Regions from separate parts of the Homo sapiens genome. Here regions 2, 3, 4, 5 and 6 are each linked to region 1. The links are contacts of gene promoters, found by promoter capture Hi-C in blood cells and fetal thymus (Javierre and others, 2016). All regions are on one chromosome and are shown on one strand. Each heading gives the region's core, a stretch centred on a gene start or on the middle of the fragment in contact. The rest is flanking DNA. Distances are from core to core; before and after follow the strand shown. Region 1 holds the start of DMTF1 (cyclin D binding myb like transcription factor 1). Region 2 overlaps ELAPOR2 (endosome-lysosome associated apoptosis and autophagy regulator family member 2). Region 3 overlaps ELAPOR2 (endosome-lysosome associated apoptosis and autophagy regulator family member 2). Region 4 overlaps ELAPOR2 (endosome-lysosome associated apoptosis and autophagy regulator family member 2). Region 5 overlaps ELAPOR2 (endosome-lysosome associated apoptosis and autophagy regulator family member 2). Region 6 overlaps ELAPOR2 (endosome-lysosome associated apoptosis and autophagy regulator family member 2).

Region 1 (3,514 bases), core at 392-2,891:
AGAAAGGGAGAATTTAGTTATGAGGATGCACTTGACTTTTTGCGGGGAGTTAGCAGCGTGCAGGCTGACCTAAAATTTAGCAGAGGAGAATGGATAGCCCGACTATAATTTATATATCACTATTTTGTGCCTTAGCAAAAATAATCCTATATGGTTATGTCTTATGAAAAATATGGCTCATTAGGAACCACCTTATCAATGTTAATGTCAACAATTTTGCATATGTAATTATTATTTTATTAGAACTGCTCTTTGAGTAGTTGTATTGCTTTCCTGGCTTTAAGGTTTATTAGTTACCATTTTTAATGCTTAATACACGTCAGATTCCATGCAAACTACGCTGTCTACAATATTCTGGAAGGTACATCTTATTACTCCTAAAGTAAACAAAGCTAAAAGAGGTGAAGTGCCATATCCACTACTAAGAAATGGAGCCAAGATTCACACTCAGGTCTGACTGCCTGAGTCCATACCACGATACTATTCTGCCTCATAGTTTTGCTTACATAAACATTATTATGTACTTATTAAAAAATGGAATGATACACGGCTTAACTCCAACAGAATGCAGAGTGCCACAAATTAGTAATAAAGTTATCAACACAAGAAAATGCTGCTTCTGAGATTTATTTTTGAAAATTAGTCAAACATGTCGATCCTCCAGTAAAGCAAAGCATTTGTAAACTGGTTGTAATCATTTGTTTTCGTTATGAAAGTACTGCCAAAGTGTATTTTGTGAACTGCAACCGGGTAGTTCAGAACACAGGCTTTGGAGCTGAGGCTTCAATTCTAATTCCACCGCCAACTTGGGAGCCCTTGGACACATTCCTTCACTTCTCTTTGGTTCCTGTGTAAAATGGGATTCATTTGTAATAATTGTAGCGATGCACTTAGAACTTATGAACATTAAATGAGTTTAATATACGTAAAACATTTACCTGTCACATACGCACTCAAAGAATGCTGGCTCACATTACAGAACCCAAAGGCTTATTTATCCTTTTCGTTTATAAGGGTATTAAAACGCGTTTTCTATTTAGGATGGGTTTATACGGCTGCAACCCAAGGAGCATCTGTACTTTTAAGAGGAACTGGGCACAGCAAAACAGCATCTTCCTAGTCTAACAGTGAGACTACATTCACAGAGGACACATTTCATCAAGAACGACTTAACACGCCCAGATATCTCATATTATGCCCCTGCGGTAAGGCAAATCAAGTATGAAGACACACACTCCCTGTTTTCTTCAGCACTGAGATCACTGGTTCCCTCCGTTCCACACCGCGGCTCCCTCGGCTCGGAGCCACAGGGAACTATGAAAATCGGCACGCGAGGCCTAAGTGTCCCCAGAACCAGAGGAACCACAGTTGCGTCATAGCAGAAGGACCTCTTTTACAGCATCAGCAGTGGGATAGTCAGTGCCGAGTTTTCCTGGCAGGACAGCCGACAACCACCGCCACAGACCAGTACAAACATTCCAACCCAGGACCTTTTTTCGCGCGCCGACACAGCCGGAAGTGACGCGTACAGCCAGCACGCTGGGCCGCCAGCGGGACAGACGAGCGGGAGGGGCAGCGTGCGGGGAGCTGGGGGCGGGGCGCGGCCGCAGCTCCGTTTCCGGTGGCTCGTCGCGCTCGCTCACTCCAGCTGCAGCCACTCTCGCCCGTGGCTGCTTCCTCCATCCTGGTATTTTTTGGAGCTTCCATCCTGGTTCTTCCAAAGTGCCCGGACCCAAAACAGGAAGTAAGTGCGATGGAACCTTCAGGTTCCAACCGCCGCCAGGGCCGCTCCGCCCAGTGGAGCCTGTCCGGCCCCCTTGCTGCCCGCTAGCTCCCGCCGGCTGGCGCAAGCTGTCGGCGCCGGGGCACTGCGGGCGGGGTCGGAGCCTGGCCTTCCTGACGTTGCAGCTGCCGTCCCCGCACGTTCCGGCCAGGGCCTCCCTCTTAGGGCCGGGCGGTGCCCGTGGCTCAGGCTGCAGAGTAGGGAAGCGAGCGGCTGCCGAGGCACAGCGGCGATCCGGCGGGGGCGGAAAATGGCGGCGGCTTCGGAGGAGCTAAATGGCGCCGGGACCCCTGGGGGGTGGGGTGGGCCGGGAGGTTGAGTAGAGAACTGGGCCAGAAGGAGTGGAGACAGTAAGGAAGCCCTACTTGTTTTCTCGTGGTGTTCTATTTTTAGTTTTTATTTTTGTTACGTTTTCGGTTTTGTTTTATGGTCCAGCGTAGGAGAGGTAGGCTTGGGTGGGGTCGAGAGAGTGGGGGTGGGTCTCGACCCAACTTCCCCCCCTTTGCTTTTTTGTTCTTTTCCCTCGTTTGCGCTTTAGATTCTTCTGTAATTTTGCGGGGGTTCAGCCTTGCTCGGCGATTCACGGCCCAGACATAGAGAATCGGGATAGCTGGCCGAACCGTCTCTCTCAGTCTGACTCTCTTTAAAGAAGGGATGTGGGCTGGGGCGCGGGGACAGTCCTGGTGGAGCACGGAAAATGCGGCTGTAAAGTTGTAATTACCCTATTGTGCCGAGTTCCGAGAAAGTTCTTAAAATTGTTAAGTCCACTTTGTTCTCTAAAATGTACTTCGCTTTGAGAATTTCTTCAGGGAGGTATGTAGAATGTTTTACCACAATCTCCAGAGCAGATTTGAGAGTAGAAGTGGCCAAGTGCCCTTTTGTGCAATTGAATGATAGAGCATATGTCTTTATATAAAATACTCGGTGTAGATAAGGAAAAGGATAATAGTATACAGTATGAGTCAGGACTCCTCCCTTTCTCTCATTGAATTTGTGTAGTTGCTTTTTTCGCAACTCATTCATCTTTGTGTACCTCTTTTTAATGTACATGGATTTGATTATGTGTGCCTCCTTTCTGACAGTCGAGGCTGCATGTTGGGACGTCCTACAAAATGCATATTCTGTGGAATTATTTTTTAATATGACATGTCTTAAGCTTAAAGTGACGCCATTTGGAAAATTTTAAATTATACCTGTATTTTTAATTCGTGGGAGAAAACCATTTGTAGCTTTTAAGCTCCAAATACGAAAATATTCTTCCACTATGTTGAAAGTATTGCAAAATCTGTTTTTTTCAGTTAAGGGTTTTCATGTTTTTTCATTACTTCAAATTTCTTTAAGCTGGTTTTGAAATTATATTTCAAATAGCTTTCTGAGGATTACTGTCTTTTAATAACTTGAATAATTTGCCATCACTTTAACATTTAAAGAATGACTATGGCGATACACCAAAATCTTATCTTTTTGCTCTTATGGTGTACTTAGAGACAGGATTTCATGTATTTGGTTAGGATTTAGAAATTCTGTTAAGATTTAGAGAAAAAAGGTTAAAGCTACATTCCTTAACGTTACAAAAATTGTCATGCTGAGAGAATCCAATTTGGTGTGAGAATAATTTTTTTCTTCCATACAGAAAGCACAAAAACCAGCCTGATTGTATCTGGAAAAAACCATTATGTTACAGGTGTGAAAAATACATTTCATGATTGTGGTGATTTTTATCTCATTTTA
Region 2 (3,514 bases), core at 439-2,938, 240 kb before region 1:
AATGATGGATTGTGATGATAAGGCTGCTCGGAAACCCTTACTTTCAGAAGGAATAATTGTTGACTGGCATACAAATGCCCCTACCAAATTTGTGTAATCATCTGACCCTGCCACTATTTCTTTTACTGTAAAGTCTGTTATATTGTTGGTACAGAGAGCCATCTTCTTCCCCTAGGAAAATAAAGTCATAAAAGAAAGGTTTTATTGGATGTCAATCTCTAAACTTAATCTTGACTAGCTAGTGACCCTAGAAGAGCAGTGGCTCTCTCCTCACTGCAAGGATTCTGATTTAGTTGATCTGGTATGAGGCCTAGCCACCCATCAGTACTTTTTAAAAGCTCTCAAGGAAAGTCCAATATTCAACCAAACTTCAGAGTCTACAGTTATAACAAATACAGTAATTCAAGACTATACTGCTCTTCCCAGTACAAGCATCATTTGTGATAAATGAAAGTCATCAAACTTGAGAAAATAAAAGTAATCTATGAAATGTTCAATTCATAGAGTAACAATGCATGCAAAAAGACCAGAAAACTGCTGATGAAAGCTTCAGTGTCAAAGAAAAAGTGTTGGTCTTCCTTTTCCTTTATGACCCTATGTGTAGCAGAAAGGTAATGTGAAGGCTAAAGAAGAAAGCACAAAAGTCATACTGCAGCAAAATTCTAGAATAACACCTGAATTCTAAATAATTGGTCACTACAAGTGTCTTTATTAACCTACTCTTAGTTTCAATGATGTGTATCTGTTCAACTGTATAACAAGTTAAAGGTAATAGAGAGATTAGCTTTTTTAATAATTTTGAAAATAATTGGAAGATATAACTTATAAAAAATGGAAAAATTGTTTAAATATAATATGTTTAAATTTACTGTAGTCCTACTGCAAAAGACTATAGCTTGCTCCATAATTTCTACAAAGTAAATGTAAAAATAATACAGGAAAACTATTTCATTGGTGTTAGATATAGAGTGTACACAGATGTGTAAAAAGAAAAGTATAAAAGTTTATCTTTCTTAATGCAGCTAGCAGACCTAACCTATAAATTTTTCTCCTGCTACCAGGCCTTCTGACAATAGGCCTTCTCACCAGTATATTTTTTTTACTAGGCTTAAATTAAAATGTTGAAGCCAATAAAAAATAATGGAAAAGATCAGAGAAAAGGTACTGGGGAAAGAAAAAGGAAAATAGTGGAAGCTAAAAGGAAAGAAACAAGAATAAAAAGGAAGGAAAGAGATAGAAGCTAGAGGTGAAGAGAAGAGAAGGTGGAAAAAGAGGTAGTGCTAATGTACAATAAGATTGTGATAGAAGTATGGTAGACAATGGAATTAATCTTATTCACTGCTTCCCACAGTATCTGGCACATAACAGGTATTTAATTTATATTTATTGAGTGAACTGAGTAACCAATCTAGTGAGTGTCTTGGATCACCCCAGGTAAAATCAAAACAGGACAGCTGTCATACTATGTAAAATTTTATGGATCTTTTTGTTTGAAAACTTCTGTGGTCATCAGATCTCTTTTTGTTTCCTTTGTTCAAAGCTTTGCACAGTATCTCATAATGAAGACAATTGAAAATATAGGAGTTAATATGGGAAGTGACATGGAGGAAATGCCTTATCCTGTTCCTACTCTGTAGGTATATACCTATACATACTTCCCAACCCTAACCTCATATGTCCATTAAAATATTGGGCATCATGGTCCTGTAACCTCTCCCCATTGCCAGTATCAATTAAGATTCCTCTTCTTCTCACAGCAAATAAAATCCCATTTGTATGATTTAAGCCTACCTTATCAACTGATATTTGGCCCTGCATGTCTCCTTTTTATTTTGGACAAGCTTCCTCTTGAAAGTCTTTTTCTTCTTAAAACACAAAATTGACAACATAAACAACAGTAAAACTTTCTCAAATAACTTCCTGCCTAAAGAGGTAAGATTGACAACCCTGACCCATTTTTATGAAAACAAAACATCCTCAAAGCACTTACACCATAGCTCCAAGCTTCAGGTTTCAACTGACTGCATAAGTGATTTGATACACTGAGAACCAGACAAGGTTGCCCCTGGTGGAGAAATCTGCCAATATTCTAGGCAGCAATAGAGGATCTAAGCAATCAAACCTCAGTTTCTGACACTTGGTTGATATCCATAGAGAATTTATTGGTCCATTAACACAGAAAATATCAACTTGATCGGAGCTGAAATATAGGTCCATCTCACCTTGACAGCCAGAACTCACCTCATGCCCACATAAACTGATATTGAAGAAATGGAAGTATTTTGTTCCTTTGGAGGTGAAGCTGGGGCCATTCATTAATGAGCCCACACTGCTGAGGTTGCTAAAGTCATAGTGCAAACTCTGATTTTCTTTTTCATGGTAGAAAAAGCAGTCACTATAGCAAACCGAATGGTCCTTTGATTAAAGATAAAGAAACAATATAGCAGGAAAGAAAATATTAGCTGCTACTAAAATGTGTTTGAAAAAAGTTCTAGGTATAAAAACTATTCCAGTAATTTAGTCTTAGCTATAATATACTTTACCATACTAATATAAAGAATTTCTAAACTCTAACTAGATTTTTCTAAACAAAGTTCAGAAAATTCAGAATCTTTTAAAGACAGAGTAAAGTTATCCTCAAGTTTGTTCCTTGTAGAAAGGTATTTTAAGAAATAGCCAAAATTCTGTTACGTAAATTTAAACAGACAGTAAAAGTGCTTTGTCCTTCACTCATAATATGGCATCAATCTTTGCCATTCAAAATTATAAGAAACACTAGCTGTTCCCAGATGACTGCTATAGCCAGCCTATAGATAGGTAGTTTATTTGCTGTACCTAAACAATACACAAGAAATCAGTTTTAATATTTTGGAAAAGCATTCTTATTTGGGAGCTTTTAATATTTTATGTCACCAGTAACTAGTACTTTCATAGCATACAGTAAGTGTTTAATAAACGCAAGAAGGGAGAAAACAGAAATGGTAAGTAGAAAGTCTTATTTCAGAATAAATAGCAACCTCATAGCTCCCAGAGAAACATTAAGGAGAACGCTTGAATTTCTCTATTAAAATGTGCTTTCATGGGGATACCTGAAATGCAGACCCACTTACCTGATTGTTTTTACTCCCAGGCCCGCATGGAATACAAGCCTCTTTGCCATAGACCTGATGTATGGACAGGTAGGTGTCAGGTGGACATTCCTTGCACTGGTTGGTTTCTTTCTCAATGTAGTGGCCTGGAGGGCAGGGGACACACGATGAACCCGACTGTTCAGAACCGAGGGCACAGGCACGGCATGAGGACGCCACCCCATCAACTGCATTAGTGGCTGTGATAGAATAAATCTTCACCATGTCATTGATGAACCGTCTATTCTAAAAAAAAGAGCATAAAGTAATGACTTCTGCCTTGGGGCTTAGTTGTACAACCAGATTATGTCTTCTGTTGACATCATCAAAATAACTAAATAGAGTGTTCCAGCCTAATAGTTTGTAATTGACAATAGATTAATATC
Region 3 (3,514 bases), core at 732-3,231, 220 kb before region 1:
ACACTATTGGTAGCATGGGGGACATAGATTCAAATCCAAGTCAGTTTGCCTTCAGAGTCCTTTTTATGCTATCTCTCAAAGGCTCTGGATAGTAAGTATACAACATGGCTATATTCAAGCCATCTATCTGCAACTAAAATATTACAGTTGACTGCAATTTTTGTCTACTAAAACTAAAAGAAATTCTGTAACCACTTTCCATAAAAACAATTTAGAAAATGGTCACAGTAGTCCAACAAGATCATTTTGCTAAAGGCCCAGTTATTGGACCAATTGACATCCTACCTTTGGTTCCATCTGAAAATGTTCCAGGAGGACAGGGATGGCAAGAAGATGATCCATTGTTATAAAATCCAGGGTTGCAAGGCGGACAATCCTTCTTCTCTCCAGAAGGGGGCAATCTAATAGCATCTGTGAGATCCTCCCGGCAGATTTTGGGCTCTATCCACTTGTACATTATCTGTGTCTACAAAAAAAAAAAAAAAAAAAAAGCAACCAAGTCATATAACATGCTTATAACAAAAATCTTAAACTGGCAGTATAGGAAAAGTACAAATGGTGACAGAATAGAAGGGCCAGCTGACAGAATCTAAAACATCAGTGACAAAATGAGAGAAAAGAGAGAACATTGGTGGGGAAATGACTGTTACTTCCAAATGCTTTTACCCTAAGCTATAGGTGGCCTTCCCTCGTACACAGCATGTTCCTCATCATGAAATAACTCTTTAAAATGTAGGTAACCTGTTTATCACCCTTACTCTTCTATCCATTCATTTACTTTATTCCATAGCTGACATAAGTTTCTACGCAGCAACTTGCTTTTTCATTTTGAGACTTCCACTAACCTCTTCCTTTCCTCCAACAGCACATTTCATTATGCTTTGCACATAGCAATCACAAAAAGGTTATTTTTCAGAAAGAATATATCAAGATTCACATTTCAATCCTGCTAGTTCATAATATTGGTAGTGGTTCTCGGAGTCTTTTTCAATAACCTGATGTTAGACTACAAGAGCTGTAGCTAAAATGTTTACCCCAGAGGCTTCTAGGTCCTGATCCATGGGCTCTGAACATCATGATTAAGACAACCTCTGCCTTCAAGGAGAGCAGTCTTTTAAACTCTGCCCTTTTATTCTCTCACACTCATTCATTCACCCCCACACAAAGCAAAATATAAGAAAACAGCTGTAACTCAGTCAAACCCCAAAAGCCATTATTATCAAATTTTTATTCTCATTTTTAAACCAGAGATACCAAATGGGTTAGCCATTCGAAAACAAAATTGGTATGTTCAGTGGAGGAAAACAGAAAAGGAATTCTAAATGCAAACATAAAAATAAATCAACTATTTAATAACTAAATGCAGCATTTTTAAAAGAGACTAAAAGTTCCTTTTCTTAAACATATAATCTGCTAAAAGTATTTTTTCTCCTTTAAAACAACTTCTGCAATAGGAAGTCTGCTATTAAAGCTGGGGAATCAAAATTAAAGGCGATTGTCCATAGCTATTTCCAGTTAGTAGAAAATCATGTATAATAACTCCTTTAGGCTACCCAATTTTATTCTCAAGTATTCTTATGGAAGAGTAGATTAACTTATCTGAAGAAGGAGGCTTAAGAAAATGATTTAAAGGTAAATGTCTCAAAATAGTTATAAATAACATTTTTTCTTTTTACAACTCTCTTTTTCCATATTCATTTTTATGAGTTGCATCATGATACACTTTAACCAGCCACTTCACACACCTGCCTTTCTTACCATCTGTAAAATAATGGCTGCTCCTGCTGGGGATTCCTAAATAATTGGAAAAATAAAGGGGCTCTCAACTCCCCTTAAGAAAAGCAATATAAAATTCAGAGAATCTAAGCAAATGAAACATCATCATATTGGAGAGATTACTTTCTTAAAATTCTGGTTTAACAAGCATAGAAAACAAATTTCAAATCCTACTTAATTCCCTAATTTGCTGATTTATTTTGACATTAATACAAATGGATTGCGTTATGTGTGAGCTACTGCACTAGTGAAAGTAGTTGGTTCCCAGGTGGGAGTGGCGGGCGGTGCTGACACCCTGTACTATGTAATCTTCTTAATCACTTTGAGAGGTAGGTATTGCTATCCTCAAGTTTATAAATGAGGAAACACTCCAGATTAGAGCTCTTAATTTGCCCAAAAGTCAAACACAACTAGTAAATGGTAAAGTAACACCAGTCAACAAGAGTCAGTTTGGTAAGGGTAAAAATAATAAAATATGCAAATATATTGTGAGAAGTCAGCTAACCACATGACTTTCAATACATGCAAACTTCTTAAAAATTAAAAAATATACACCACTTTTAAATACTTAAAAATGTAGAAATCAAATTTCAAATGCTCTATAGTAAAAGTTTTATTTACAAAGCCTCTTGTTTCACATGGCAGATTGATTCTGTGCCTCTCTTTCTAATGGAGACAGATGCTTTCAAGTCTGGCTGACTAGGTAAAGATAATAATTAATATTAATAATACTTAGAACCAGAGGGCTTCCAGTGCAGATGAAAAACCAATAATCAATTCATTCTTTGGCAAGTTGAGATAAAACTATGAAATGTCTTATAAAACCAAAACCCTAATAAAGCAAAATTTACCAGTTTATTATTAAGATTACAAAAGAGATCCAGTGTCTGCATTCATATACAGCATGAAAAAAAAACCACATTTTTAAAAACACACAGAGGTATCAACTGAAAGCTGATTCTCATATAAAAACAGAACTCAGAACTGGGAGGACTACAATTTAGGCAAATTTTGAGACTGGCTTTGTCCATGGTTGTCTGATTTATTTCAGTTGTCACTTCACAAATGCACTAAGTCTTTATAAATTGGCTCAACTCATCAGGGCTAAATTACATGTGTTTTTAAAAGGTCTACCAACTGACCCTAACCTAACTGCCTTGTGCTCCATGATGTTCTGGCTCAGGTGGTCTCAGCCAAGCAGGCAATTTCTTATCTCCCAGGCTGTCTCAAACCTTGATCTTTTCCAGTTGCAAGCCACTGGGCACTCATCATTTGTCTCTCTTGGAATTACCCACACCATGCTGCCAACTTGTATCTGACTCCTCCTTCAAAGCCATGCTCAACATGTACAGTTGTGTTAAGTAGGTCGTCAGCCTGCCCAAATACATATCAGCATTCACCTACCTTCCTTTTCTATGACGGCTTTGCTGCTTTTCTCTTTTCCCATGTGTTTACCTCCTTCTCCTCTGATATGTTTTAGATTTCTGTCCCCATGCAAGTCTTATGTTGAATTGTAATCCCCAGTGTTGGAGGTAAGGCCTGGTGGGAGGTGATTAGGTCATGGGGGCAGATTTCCCCCTTGCTGTTCTTGTGATAGTGAGTTCTCATGAGATCTGGTTTAAAAGTGTGTGGCACCTCCCCCTTCTCTCTCTTCCTCCTGCTCTGGCCATTTAAGACATGCCTGCTTCCCCTTTTACCATGATTATAAGTTTCCTGAGGTCTTCTCAGCCACGTTTCC
Region 4 (3,514 bases), core at 742-3,241, 210 kb before region 1:
GTCGACATACTGGTACTCAAAGAAGACATAGCCTGACTTCTTAAGGTGCACAGCATAGATCAAAGACACCGTGCAGTCATCACGATTAGATTCTATGTAGTTTCCACGAGGGATCCAAGAAGAGCTGTGGAAACAAAACCAAGAAGCACTTTACATTAATGTTCTGAAACCTCTTCTATTCACAAAACTATGTAACTCAGATTCACGAGTAGTTCCATCAGCAAAGTACAGCAGAAAACACCAGAAGCTTTTCCAGACTCAAAGGCCAACTTTATTACTGAGAAGAGGTCCATTTCTTATGGCAAATAACTTCGTAAATCTTTTTAAGGTTATATGATTAATCTGCTAAGAAATTGTTATTTTTCACCCAAAATTTGATTACCAAATAGATGATAACTAATTTTAGTAGCCTTAGATGGAATTATTCTTTCAGATATCTGCAGTTTTATTTGTAAACCCATACACATGGCAAATCTATGGAAGGGGAGAAAGAGCACCATTAATGATAAATACGTAGATTAACATATAAAGCTATATTTTTTCACCTTAATTTTTTAGGAAGCTGTGTGTCATGTGAAATGAACTTGTCAGTGATGGACTTGGCTTTGAGTTCCTAAATCTTTGTAAGGTTATTTTAAAAGCAACTAATTATTTAAAACATAATACCATTGTATTGTAGGGTTTATAACATGTTTCTAAATATATGGCAATAGTATGAAGATAAGGGTATAGATGTAACTATGCTGTTGTAAAATTTAACATTATATAAAGGTACAATAATAACTCTATGTTACCATAAGGATGCATACAGTAATTTCTAGCCTTTGCAACCTGGGGTTAGCAAAGATATCCTAACATATGACCACAGCAGAAAAAAATAATAAATTGTATTCTTTCAAATTTTAAACTTCTGCTTATCAAAGGACACTATTAAGAAAACAAAAAAGGCAAAAACCACAAATTGGGAAGAAGTGTTACACACACATGGAGACGTGTGTATGTGTATGTGCACATACTATATATTTATTATATAAATATATACACATAAGAACCCATGCCCAGAATGTACAGGAACTCCTTCAGCTTAATAATCAAATGACCAAAAAAAAGTAGAGAATGGGCAAAACAATTTGACTTCACAAAAGTTAATAAACACATGAACAATAAACACATGAAACATGTTTGACATTATTATCCAGCAGGGAAATGCAAATTAAAACAAAGGGATACCATTTCTCACACACACACACACACACACACACACACACGTGTGCATACACTGGAAAGCCTAGGGCTAGAACAAAACAAGACTTAACAATACAAATGTTGGTAAACATGTAGAATAACTAGAACTAAAATATACTACTGGTGGGAGTCTACAATGATATAACCATTTTGAAAAGCTCAGACTTTTTAGAAAGTTCAACATACATCTCCTATATGACACAACTAATTAAAGAGAAATAAAAAGTATGCAAAAGTGGACGGAGTTTTGCTCTTGTTGCCCAGACTGGAGTGCAATGGTGCGATCTCAGCTCACCGCAACCTCTGCCTCCAGGGTTCAAGTGATCCTCCTGCCTCAGCCTCCAGAGTACCTGGGATTACGGGCACCTGCCACCACGCCAGGCTAATTTTTGTATTTTTAGTAGAGATGGGGTTTCTCCATGTTGGTCAGGCTGGTCTTGAACTCCCAACCTCAGGTGATCCGCCTGCCTCGACCTCCCAAAGTGCTGGGATTACAGGCATGAGCCACCGCCGCACTGGCCCAGACTCAAATTTACACTGAGAAAATTACACTAGAAAACACTACATTGAAAAACTTCCGCTTACTCGATTTCTTTTATGCATAAACTATTCCAGGCAGAAAAAGAAGCCTTGTCAGTATCTCCTGCCCACCAAAACAAAGATCTGAGGTCCCACAACATCCTACTAGTACCTTCCTCTAAGGAACTCTTTTACTTAAAACACACACTCTCTCAAGGAAATAATCCTATTATCGAGAGATTAAAATAAAGAAATTGGCATCATTTGGCAAAAAGACAGCTAGAGTGAAAGGAAGGAAGAAAGGAAGGGAGGGAGGGAATGAATATGCCTTTCAACACAGCTAAATAATTCCCCAGCATCCTTAGCTTATGGTAAAAATGTGGGGTTCCTGAGAGGCTACTCTTGTCAGGGGGTAGCCAGAGCCCTAAAGTTGAATTCTCCTAAGCAAATCCATATGAAAGGAAATGTTACATAATTAATACAAGGGAACAGGAAGGGATATAGCTCAAAGACAAACATTTTGTTTTGTTTTTTTCAAAACAGTTTAACATTTCTCCAGCTTTGTCATATGCAAAGCTAATAATCCCCTATAAAAGAGGTAGGAATTAAGCAAAGGCGCTTTCCACCTTAGGTACTTAACCCACTCTCTTTTATAGGAGATAATCAAGTGTCTAAATGAAGGTTATGAATTCTTCCTGTCAGAGGAAAATAAAAAAACCTGAAAGTATCTGTTAAAAATCAGAAAAAGGTTAGTAGAAACACCAGTGGCTTAAATGTAGTTATAAATATGAGAAAATTAATTTGCTTCTCTAACAGCTTTATTGCATTTTTGCATACAGTGTCTATTATATCCTGAGGGCAATGATTTTAACCTCATGAAAACTCATTGCAATGACCGTCCAAAAAACATGATTCTTTGCAATTAGCTTATCTATCACCACAAACAGTACCAAGATTATCCTCATCTTCTTTCTGGAAAAGAGCAACTACTTTCTTCTCAAATATTCAGTTAAGAGCCAAAGGCTGCTTTGGATTCTTACTTGTTACAGCCGTCTGGCCTGCTGTCAGAAGGGCCCACCACAGTGTCCATGAATGTTGCGATGTTAGAAAATCCTGCCGGCAATTCATCCCATTCATCAAATTTGATGCCACTGCCCAAGGAATAGGTGCCTTCACCACACTTACTGCATACCTGGTTCTTCATTTCTAGATACTCTCCAGAAGCACAGGAGAAAGCTGGAAGGCAGAAGAATGGACAACCCATTACTTACCCTCCCATCAATTTCCTCCCCTTCATGCTGTCACCAGAATTATTTTTATAAAACTCTGATTGTGCCACACTCAAACGAAAGCCTTTCAAATTCCTCTTATCACTACATGCATTTCACAATCTGGTTCCAACCTATTTTTCCAAGCTCACCCTTTGCCCCACCCTCTTCCAGCCAAAACAGAATTCCTATCATTCCCAAAATATTTCATCCTCTCTCCTGCTGTTGTGGTCTTCTTTCCTACAAGATAGATGTTGGCCAATCCTACCTTCTCTACATGGAACACTCCTGTTCTCAACTCAAAAACCACTCACTTCATAACAGATCCCTTCCCCTGGCCCAATGGGCAGTCAGTTGTACCTCCCTTTATGGTCCTACAGTGCACTTGTTATAATACCTCCATTAAAGCACTTAATTTATGCTAATCAGTGGATAAGCACATATTAAGACCACTTATAAGTTGATGTGAGATTTTGAGCTTT
Region 5 (3,514 bases), core at 284-2,783, 160 kb before region 1:
CAGATTTATTTATAAATGTATATTTATATCCATCACATATAATAACAAGCAATGAGCACTACAGGTAAGATACAGATTAAGGGCTATCAGTCCCAAGAACTACCAAAGTGCCTTCACAGACTTGGCACAGAGCAGCTTTGTGGGTGACCATATCAGGTGATTGATGTATCAGGTGAATGTTGATGATTTATTTTACAGTTGAAGGAACAAGCATATCCATGTTATTTAATAACTGTGTTACTGAATAGCTGGCCAGTCAAACATTCCACTGGGTCAAACATTCCAAGACACCTTGCTCCCAAGGCTGAGGTCTCATCTAGTATACAACATTGTTCTCTTTCCAGTAAAATTGGTTCTCACCTCCAGATTTCTTTGTTTCTAGTGATATTACCATCATAGATGTGGTCTACCAGAAGAATTTACAGTCTTCTACTTTCAAAACACACACACACATGACTTTTCTGATTATGAAAGTAATTAGTAAGTTATTGTTGACAGTTGAGAAAATTTGCCCCAACTCTATTATACCAGGGCAGTCACTGGAATAAGCCAGGCAGTTCAGAGCCAGTTTGTTCAAGCAAGAAACAAGCAGTCCAGAGCTTGTTTAAAGGCTCCATGAAGTCATGAGGCTCCTTCTGTCTTCCTGCTTTATCTCTCTTGGCTTCCATCCTCCAGGTCACCTCAGCATCCAAGGTGGCTGCTAATGTTCCAGCCATTATATTCATGTGACAGTCAGCAAGACAAAATTAACTAAAGAGAAAGTAGAGAATGTGTGCTCTCCCTCTTTTAAAGAGCCTTCTTGAAAATCCCATCTGAAGCATCTGTTTACATTTCATTTGCCAGAATTTAGTCAATGACCACAAGCTATAAAGAAGCCTGGGAAAGGGTGCTTTAACTAGGCATGTTGCCCAGGTTTCTGTCACTAAGGAAAATGGGGATAATAGATATTGAAAGCAAATTACATCATATGCTTTTTCCAATGCATAAATCAAAATAGTGTCATCAATACAGGAAAGGGAAGTAAACTGCTGCTACAACAGGAAGCTGATTTTTTTATGGCTCCTGGCTAGGCCTGGTAGCTAACATCTGTAATCCCAGCACTTTGGGAGGTCAAGGCGGAAGGACTGCATGAAGTCAGGAGTTTAAGACACCCAACCCCCAACCTGGGCAAAACCCTATCTCTATGAAAAAAGTTTAAAAATTAGCTGAGCATGGTGGTACATGCCTGTAGTTCCAGCTACTTGGGAGGGCTGAGGCAGGAGGATTACTTAAGCCTGGGAGTTTGAGGCTGTAGTGAGCTATGATCGTGCCACTGCACTCCAGCATGGGCAACAGAGCAAGATTCTTGTCTCAAAAAAAAAATAGCTCCTAATAAATTTCTTAAACTGAGTATTCCAAGATATCAAAAAATAGCTCCTAATAAAAGAAATTCCTAAAACTGAGTTTTCCAAGATATAATTCTAGAATCTTCAGTCGAGATCAAATCCAAATAAAATGGATATTTATCATTACCTTATACTAAATAAGTTGGACCCACATTATTTCCTAAACTACATTCATATGAAAAAAATAGGAAAAAGCAACTTTAACTAAGCTCTAATCTGTCCTCTCTGTCTTTCCCAGTAGAGTCTGATCACATTAAATGAAAAGGTGAATTTATTTCTATTCATGCTACTATGGGGACAAAATTATAAAAAGAAGTTTGTCAAATGTCTTAACTGATGTTCTGATTCAAAATAGCTAGAATGTTCAATTTTGGAATCCTTCATCGATTTGAAAATAGTTAAGGAATGTCATGATCATGATCCTCTATCATCTTAAAAAATGCAACAACTATAAAAACTACAGAGATTCACTGAAAGTATAAAGAAAATCTTGCCGGGCGTGGTGGATCACACCTATAATCCCAACACTTTGGGAGGCCGAGGCGGGTGGATCACGAGGTCAAGAGATCAAGACCATCCTGGTCAACATGGTGAAACCCTGTCTCTACTAAAAATACAAAAATTAGCTGGGCGTGGTGGCGCGCACCTGCGGTTCCAGCTACTCAGGAGGCTGAGGCGGGAGAGTTGCTTGAACCCGGGAGGCGAAGGTTGCAGTGAGCCAAGATCGCACCACCGTACTCCAGCCTGATGACAGAGCGAGACTCCATCTCAAAAAAAAAAAAAAAAGAAAAAGAAAAGAAAAGGAAAGAAAAAGAAAAAAGAAAATCTTACAAAATGAAGTGACTGGAACCCAGAACTGAGTTCACTTAACCATCCTGCAGTAATCACATACCACACAATAAGCACTAGGAATATGACAGTGAATGAGACATAGCCCTGCCCTCTAGAGGAACAAATAGAGGAATCAAAGAGATGAGTTATTTCAATACAATACAATACCATTATTACTGAGTGAAGAAATCCAAAAGGAGGAAGAGAATTAGCCATCTAGGTTATTAAAATAAGAGGAATCTTACAAATATTTGGAGGACAGCAAATTACCTACTGATGCTGATAAATCTCTTTTGAAAGACTGTTTTACATTAAGGTTGAGTTAAATTAGAATTATACTACTGCCTTTCATTTTCTTTTACCAAAAATGGATGATAAAACTGTAATTGAAACTGTTAATGTCCAAACCACTTGCTGATCATTCCAAATCCTCTATAATCTAGTCCTGAAAGCCTTCTCAAAATCCAACTTGTACACAATCCCAACACTCCAGACAAACTAGTTTAATTACTAACTTCTAAATGAATCACAAGTTCATGTGTTCCCTCTATTATGGACAAGTTTCCTCTACTCACCACATACAACACACACATACAGCCCATTCAGCTAAATTACTCTCTTCCTATGAACCTATTCAATACCTCTCCTCAATTGAATCTTTTCCAAATCAAAATCTCTCTTTGATCTCTTTGAGCCTTTTAACCTATGCCACTGACATCATTCCTCAGATTTCCTTTCTTATTGCAAAACTTATATTCCTGGCCAAATTTTAATCTCTTTGGGAGCAGGTATTTAGTCTTATATCTCTTTGTAATCCTCTAAGCCTAGTAGCAGATCTGTTTAATGAATATTGATACTTTCAGTAATTATCTGTCATATCCCTTTACTTTATACACAGAGGGAAGGGCAAAAACATAACCTCAGAAATGAGATGCCCACTTGAGAAATGAAGAAACAACATTAGAGTTTCCTTTCTTCCAAACACACAGAGTTGACAAAGATAAGCTTAAAACAGTCTCTTGATTTAGGAGGTATAACAATGAGTAAATAAAAGTCATTTATCAAGTGCTTCGGAATTTCTAGATAAACATTGTCAAGTTAGTAATGTATAAGATCATCATCAATCATCTTAGATGCTTAAATCATGTGGCAAAATGTAAATAAAATGCACATCCCTGAGAAACAGCCCCACTAACACATATACTTTTTAAAAACTGAGTTGGTTAAACAATCCTTGTCTATTGTCTAAAATATTATGAAGTTTTCATTTATGGTTCCTTAACACCTTATAACAAGAA
Region 6 (3,514 bases), core at 715-3,214, 140 kb before region 1:
GGAAAACAATACATAAGAAACAGTTGTACACTGGATTTATGACAATTTGAAGGAGAGAACATACCTGAATTCACTGACTGATGAATTTAAAAAAATTAGATCCCTAATTTTGTTAAGCAATGCTGAGCAAAAAACAAAACAACGACAACAAAAACCACCTATGAGACATGGTATGTATCTTCCTTATAGAATAGATAAGACATAAATGCAACTAACCATCAAGCAAGGTGAATTTTGATAATTACTACAAAAACCGTACAAAGTTTAAAGGGCAAAGAGCACATTTAGCTCAACCTGGGAGATCCCACAGTGGCTTGGAAGAGGAAGTAGAGATTCAATCTATGGAAAAGATTTCAATATACATAATAGAAACAGGGAATGAACCACAAAGGTGTTTTACACAGACAGAACATTAGGAAGAAGGACACTAAGAAACAAATTACAGGATTTATCACAACAACTGAAAAGAGACAGTTTGCCTTGGGAATAGAGAGTAAGAGAAAATACTTGAAAAACAGTTTGAGGCCAGATCATTGAAGAGTTTTGAATGCCAGAGGTACATAAATTTAATATAGTCAGTGGAGTACCCCAGTGTTTTGGGATTAGGAAAGGTAGTGAAATAATGGCTATTTCAAAAATAAAATCAAGTAAGAGGCTAACCCAACAGTACAGAAAAGCAGGAATAAAGATCTGCACCAAAAGGAAGCAGAAGAAGACTGGTGTTTCCAAATCCTTTCTCTGGCTTTCTCACCTCTAGCAATAAAAAGGCCCAAGGTAACCACTGGTTGTCAAGCAGGCTAATAAGTATTTAGAATGCTCACAAAGCATTTTACAAGTTCATCTTTAAAGAAAGCTATTAACACCCTCCACAGTACAACGAGGGTTATTTGTATGAATTTATTAGCTCTTCTGTTTTTCTCCAGTAAACCTAAAAAAGCTTTAAAGAACATCCTTTAAAATCTGTATATAAAATTCTTTTTATAAACACTACCTTTGAAGGTCTTTCCAGGTAAACTCATTACGAAAGAAAGAAAGAAAGAAAAAAAGTCCAAGTTCAAACCATTCTATTTCTCTAGAGGTCTCTTTTCCCAGTTTCAGAAATAAAATCTGTGCCTGTGGCTATTGTCAAACTTTACAGTGGAATTTACATTTAATATTTCCTACAAAGCTTCAGTCTACAACTGATTATAATTCTTAGAAACAAATACATTGTATTCCAATGGGAGAAAAACTAAAAGCAAAATTCTTAATACTCTCCACCCACACCAATAGTTTTGTCAGCTTTCCAGTTGGAAATCTTTGAAACTGGGATTCAAGTAGAGCTAAACTGATTTAACAGATATAAATGGAGTCAAATAAATCTCCAACGTAGGAAGTGAAAATGTACTATCAGAAGTACTACCTATGTCTTTCATCAGTGTTCATATTAACACAGAACTAAAATTATAGGCTACATAGGGGAAGACTAAGCATCCTCTAGCATTTCAGAAAAAAACAATGAATTCTGATACATTTCTATGCATTTCTACTGAAGGATCACTAAAAACTTTTAAAATGTGAGTTTCTCTAAGAATTTCTATTGTTTTTTAGAGCTGGCAGAAGAGATGACCCTTTGAGTAGAACAGAGAAGAGCCTTGTTCTGCTGCTGTCTTTACCATTTCTCTAGGGATATTATAGCACAATCTGCACAATTCACAGACAGGTACTATTATAGTTTAAAAACATAAAGCCAGTGAAAATTCTATGTTAAGACAATACCTGCACTGTTTAGGGAATAATGACAAGAAAAAAATCCTTACATGTTCAGGACAGATGCCATTTTTTTTTTCAAATAGTTTCAATCTGAGGTTGGTTGAATCCACAGATGTGCAGCCCACAGATACAGAGGAACCACTATATACATAATTTTACATTGTCCAAGTTTATATGAGTAAAATGTTACTTTTAAAATAAAGGCTTTGGAAAATAAAAAAATGTCAGCACTGTCCTGGATTAGATAAATTTTTAAAAAGAAAATATACCGACCAGGTGCAGTGGCTCACACCTGTAATCCCAGCACTTTGGGAGGCCAAGGCGGGCGGGTCATGAGGTCAAGAGATCGAGACCATCCTGGCCAACATGGTGAAACCCCGTCTCCACTAAAAATACAAAAAAATTAGCTGGGCATGGTGGCACGTGCCTGTAGTCCCAGCTACTCGGGAGGCTGAGGCAGGAGAATCGCTTGAACACGGGAAGTGGAGGTTGCAGTGAGCCAAGATGCATGGCGACAGAGCGAGACTCCATCTCAAAAAAAAAAAAAAAAAAAGAAAAGAAAAAGAAAATACACCACCACAAAACATGTTTGCAAATGAACAATTGACTTCATGCTGCATTAAACAAAGTAATAAAGGAGAGAACCTTTCCTAGACTGAATCCATGTCTGTATACCTGAAAATAGCATCCAGCTTTTTAAAACTCCTAATACTACTGAATGCTCTGGTAATATTCGGTTCTTATTGATAGTAACAAACTTTAAAATAATTCATACTTGAGTAATAATTGCAGATATTTATAACTCTTTTTAATACAAATACTCAGTACAATTTTTCCGTTTCAGTGAGTTCACAAAATTGCCAACTGGCTTAACATTGTTGTATAAAAAATACAGCCTTGTTTATCCAGCTTTTACCAACTTGGTGTCTTGGGAGCTTTCACAGAAGCACATAACAACCACCTATAATGAGAAATGTGTTGGTGGGTCACTAGGGAGTTGATCATTGAATAAGCTTTTCATATTTCTTTACTTTCTAACAATATTAAAGGTATATTTATAGGAGGGGAAGAAAGATGACAGAAACAAAAGACAGGGTCTATATGTTTTAAATATTCAGCATAACATCTGTACCAGCTATATATTATATACTTCTGAATAGAAATATAAGCTATAAATGCAAGTCACATGTGTAATTTTAAGTTTTCTAGTAGTCACATTAAAATGATTTTAAAAACAGGTAAAATTAATTTTAATAATATATTTTAACTTGATACCATTTGAACAGTAACAATATAAAAATATTAATGAGAAACTACATTCTTTTATTGTACTAAATAATCTAAATCCAATGTGTATTTTACACATATAGCACACTTCAATTTGAAATAGCCACATTTAAAGTGGTCAATATCTGGCCGGGCGTGGTGGCTCACACCTGTAATCCCAGCACTTCGGGAGGCCAAGGTGGGCAGATCACAAGGTCAGGAGATTGAGACCATCCTGGCCAACATGGTGAAACCCTGTCTCTACTAAAAATACAAAAATTAGCTGGGCATGGTGGCGCATGCCTGTAGTCCCAGCTACTCGGGAGGCTGAGCCAGGAGAATTGCTTGAACCCAGGAGGTGGAGGTTGCAGTGAGCCGAGATTGTGCCATGACACTCTAGCCTGGTGACAGAGTGAGACTCCTTCTCAAAAAGAAATTAAAAAAAAGTAGTCAATATCCACAAATGGCTACTAACCACAGTATTAGTCTAGTTCTA

What was found. The method cuts DNA at HindIII sites, captures the fragments that hold promoters and counts their contacts. A CHiCAGO score of 5 or more calls a contact.
Region 2: a fragment that was not itself captured here is called in contact with the fragment with the promoter of DMTF1 in region 1 in 14 of 17 cell types (naive CD8 T cells, total CD4 T cells, naive CD4 T cells and 11 more); the score reaches 11.9 in naive CD8 T cells.
Region 3: a contact is called between a fragment that was not itself captured here and the fragment with the promoter of DMTF1 in region 1, in 16 of 17 cell types (megakaryocytes, total CD4 T cells, naive CD8 T cells and 13 more). The highest score is 18.7, in megakaryocytes.
Region 4: a fragment that was not itself captured here is called in contact with the fragment with the promoter of DMTF1 in region 1 in 15 of 17 cell types (naive CD4 T cells, total CD4 T cells, total B cells and 12 more); the score reaches 18.5 in naive CD4 T cells.
Region 5: a contact is called between a fragment that was not itself captured here and the fragment with the promoter of DMTF1 in region 1, in 5 of 17 cell types (non-activated CD4 T cells, naive CD8 T cells, total CD4 T cells and 2 more). The highest score is 9.4, in non-activated CD4 T cells.
Region 6: a fragment that was not itself captured here is called in contact with the fragment with the promoter of DMTF1 in region 1 in 2 of 17 cell types (naive CD4 T cells and total CD4 T cells); the score reaches 6.5 in naive CD4 T cells.

The regions. Positions count from the first base shown.
Region 1 is chr7:87,150,812-87,154,325 of GRCh38, forward strand. DMTF1 (cyclin D binding myb like transcription factor 1) reads left to right here and starts at 1,642. Exons shown (of 18, transcript NM_001142327.2): 1 at 1,642-1,744. DMTF1-AS1 (DMTF1 antisense RNA 1) reads right to left here and starts at 1,682. Exons shown (of 2, transcript NR_136253.1): 1 at 1,491-1,682; 2 at 612-847. RefSeq lists enhancers at 712-1,275, 1,191-1,430, 1,276-1,837. The HindIII fragment of the contact is 3,514 bases long and covers 1-2,937 here.
Region 2 is chr7:86,909,831-86,913,344 of GRCh38, forward strand. ELAPOR2 (endosome-lysosome associated apoptosis and autophagy regulator family member 2) reads right to left here. Exons shown (of 22, transcript NM_001142749.3): 14 at 3,111-3,374; 15 at 2,242-2,415; 16 at 1-171. Among named protein-coding and RNA genes, the nearest start is that of GRM3-AS1, 110 kb to the left of the region's middle. The HindIII fragment of the contact is 301 bases long and covers 1,539-1,839 here.
Region 3 is chr7:86,926,451-86,929,964 of GRCh38, forward strand. It overlaps ELAPOR2 (endosome-lysosome associated apoptosis and autophagy regulator family member 2), which reads right to left. Exons shown (of 22, transcript NM_001142749.3): 9 at 286-466. Among named protein-coding and RNA genes, the nearest start is that of GRM3-AS1, 120 kb to the left of the region's middle. The HindIII fragment of the contact is 7,378 bases long and covers 1-3,514 here.
Region 4 is chr7:86,944,923-86,948,436 of GRCh38, forward strand. ELAPOR2 (endosome-lysosome associated apoptosis and autophagy regulator family member 2) reads right to left here. Exons shown (of 22, transcript NM_001142749.3): 3 at 2,805-3,000; 4 at 1-124. Among named protein-coding and RNA genes, the nearest start is that of ELAPOR2, 110 kb to the right of the region's middle. The HindIII fragment of the contact is 3,492 bases long and covers 246-3,514 here.
Region 5 is chr7:86,991,080-86,994,593 of GRCh38, forward strand. The region is part of intron 1 of ELAPOR2 (endosome-lysosome associated apoptosis and autophagy regulator family member 2); the gene reads right to left. Among named protein-coding and RNA genes, the nearest start is that of ELAPOR2, 67 kb to the right of the region's middle. The HindIII fragment of the contact is 3,371 bases long and covers 1-3,219 here.
Region 6 is chr7:87,008,964-87,012,477 of GRCh38, forward strand. The region is part of intron 1 of ELAPOR2 (endosome-lysosome associated apoptosis and autophagy regulator family member 2); the gene reads right to left. Among named protein-coding and RNA genes, the nearest start is that of ELAPOR2, 49 kb to the right of the region's middle. The HindIII fragment of the contact is 1,597 bases long and covers 1,167-2,763 here.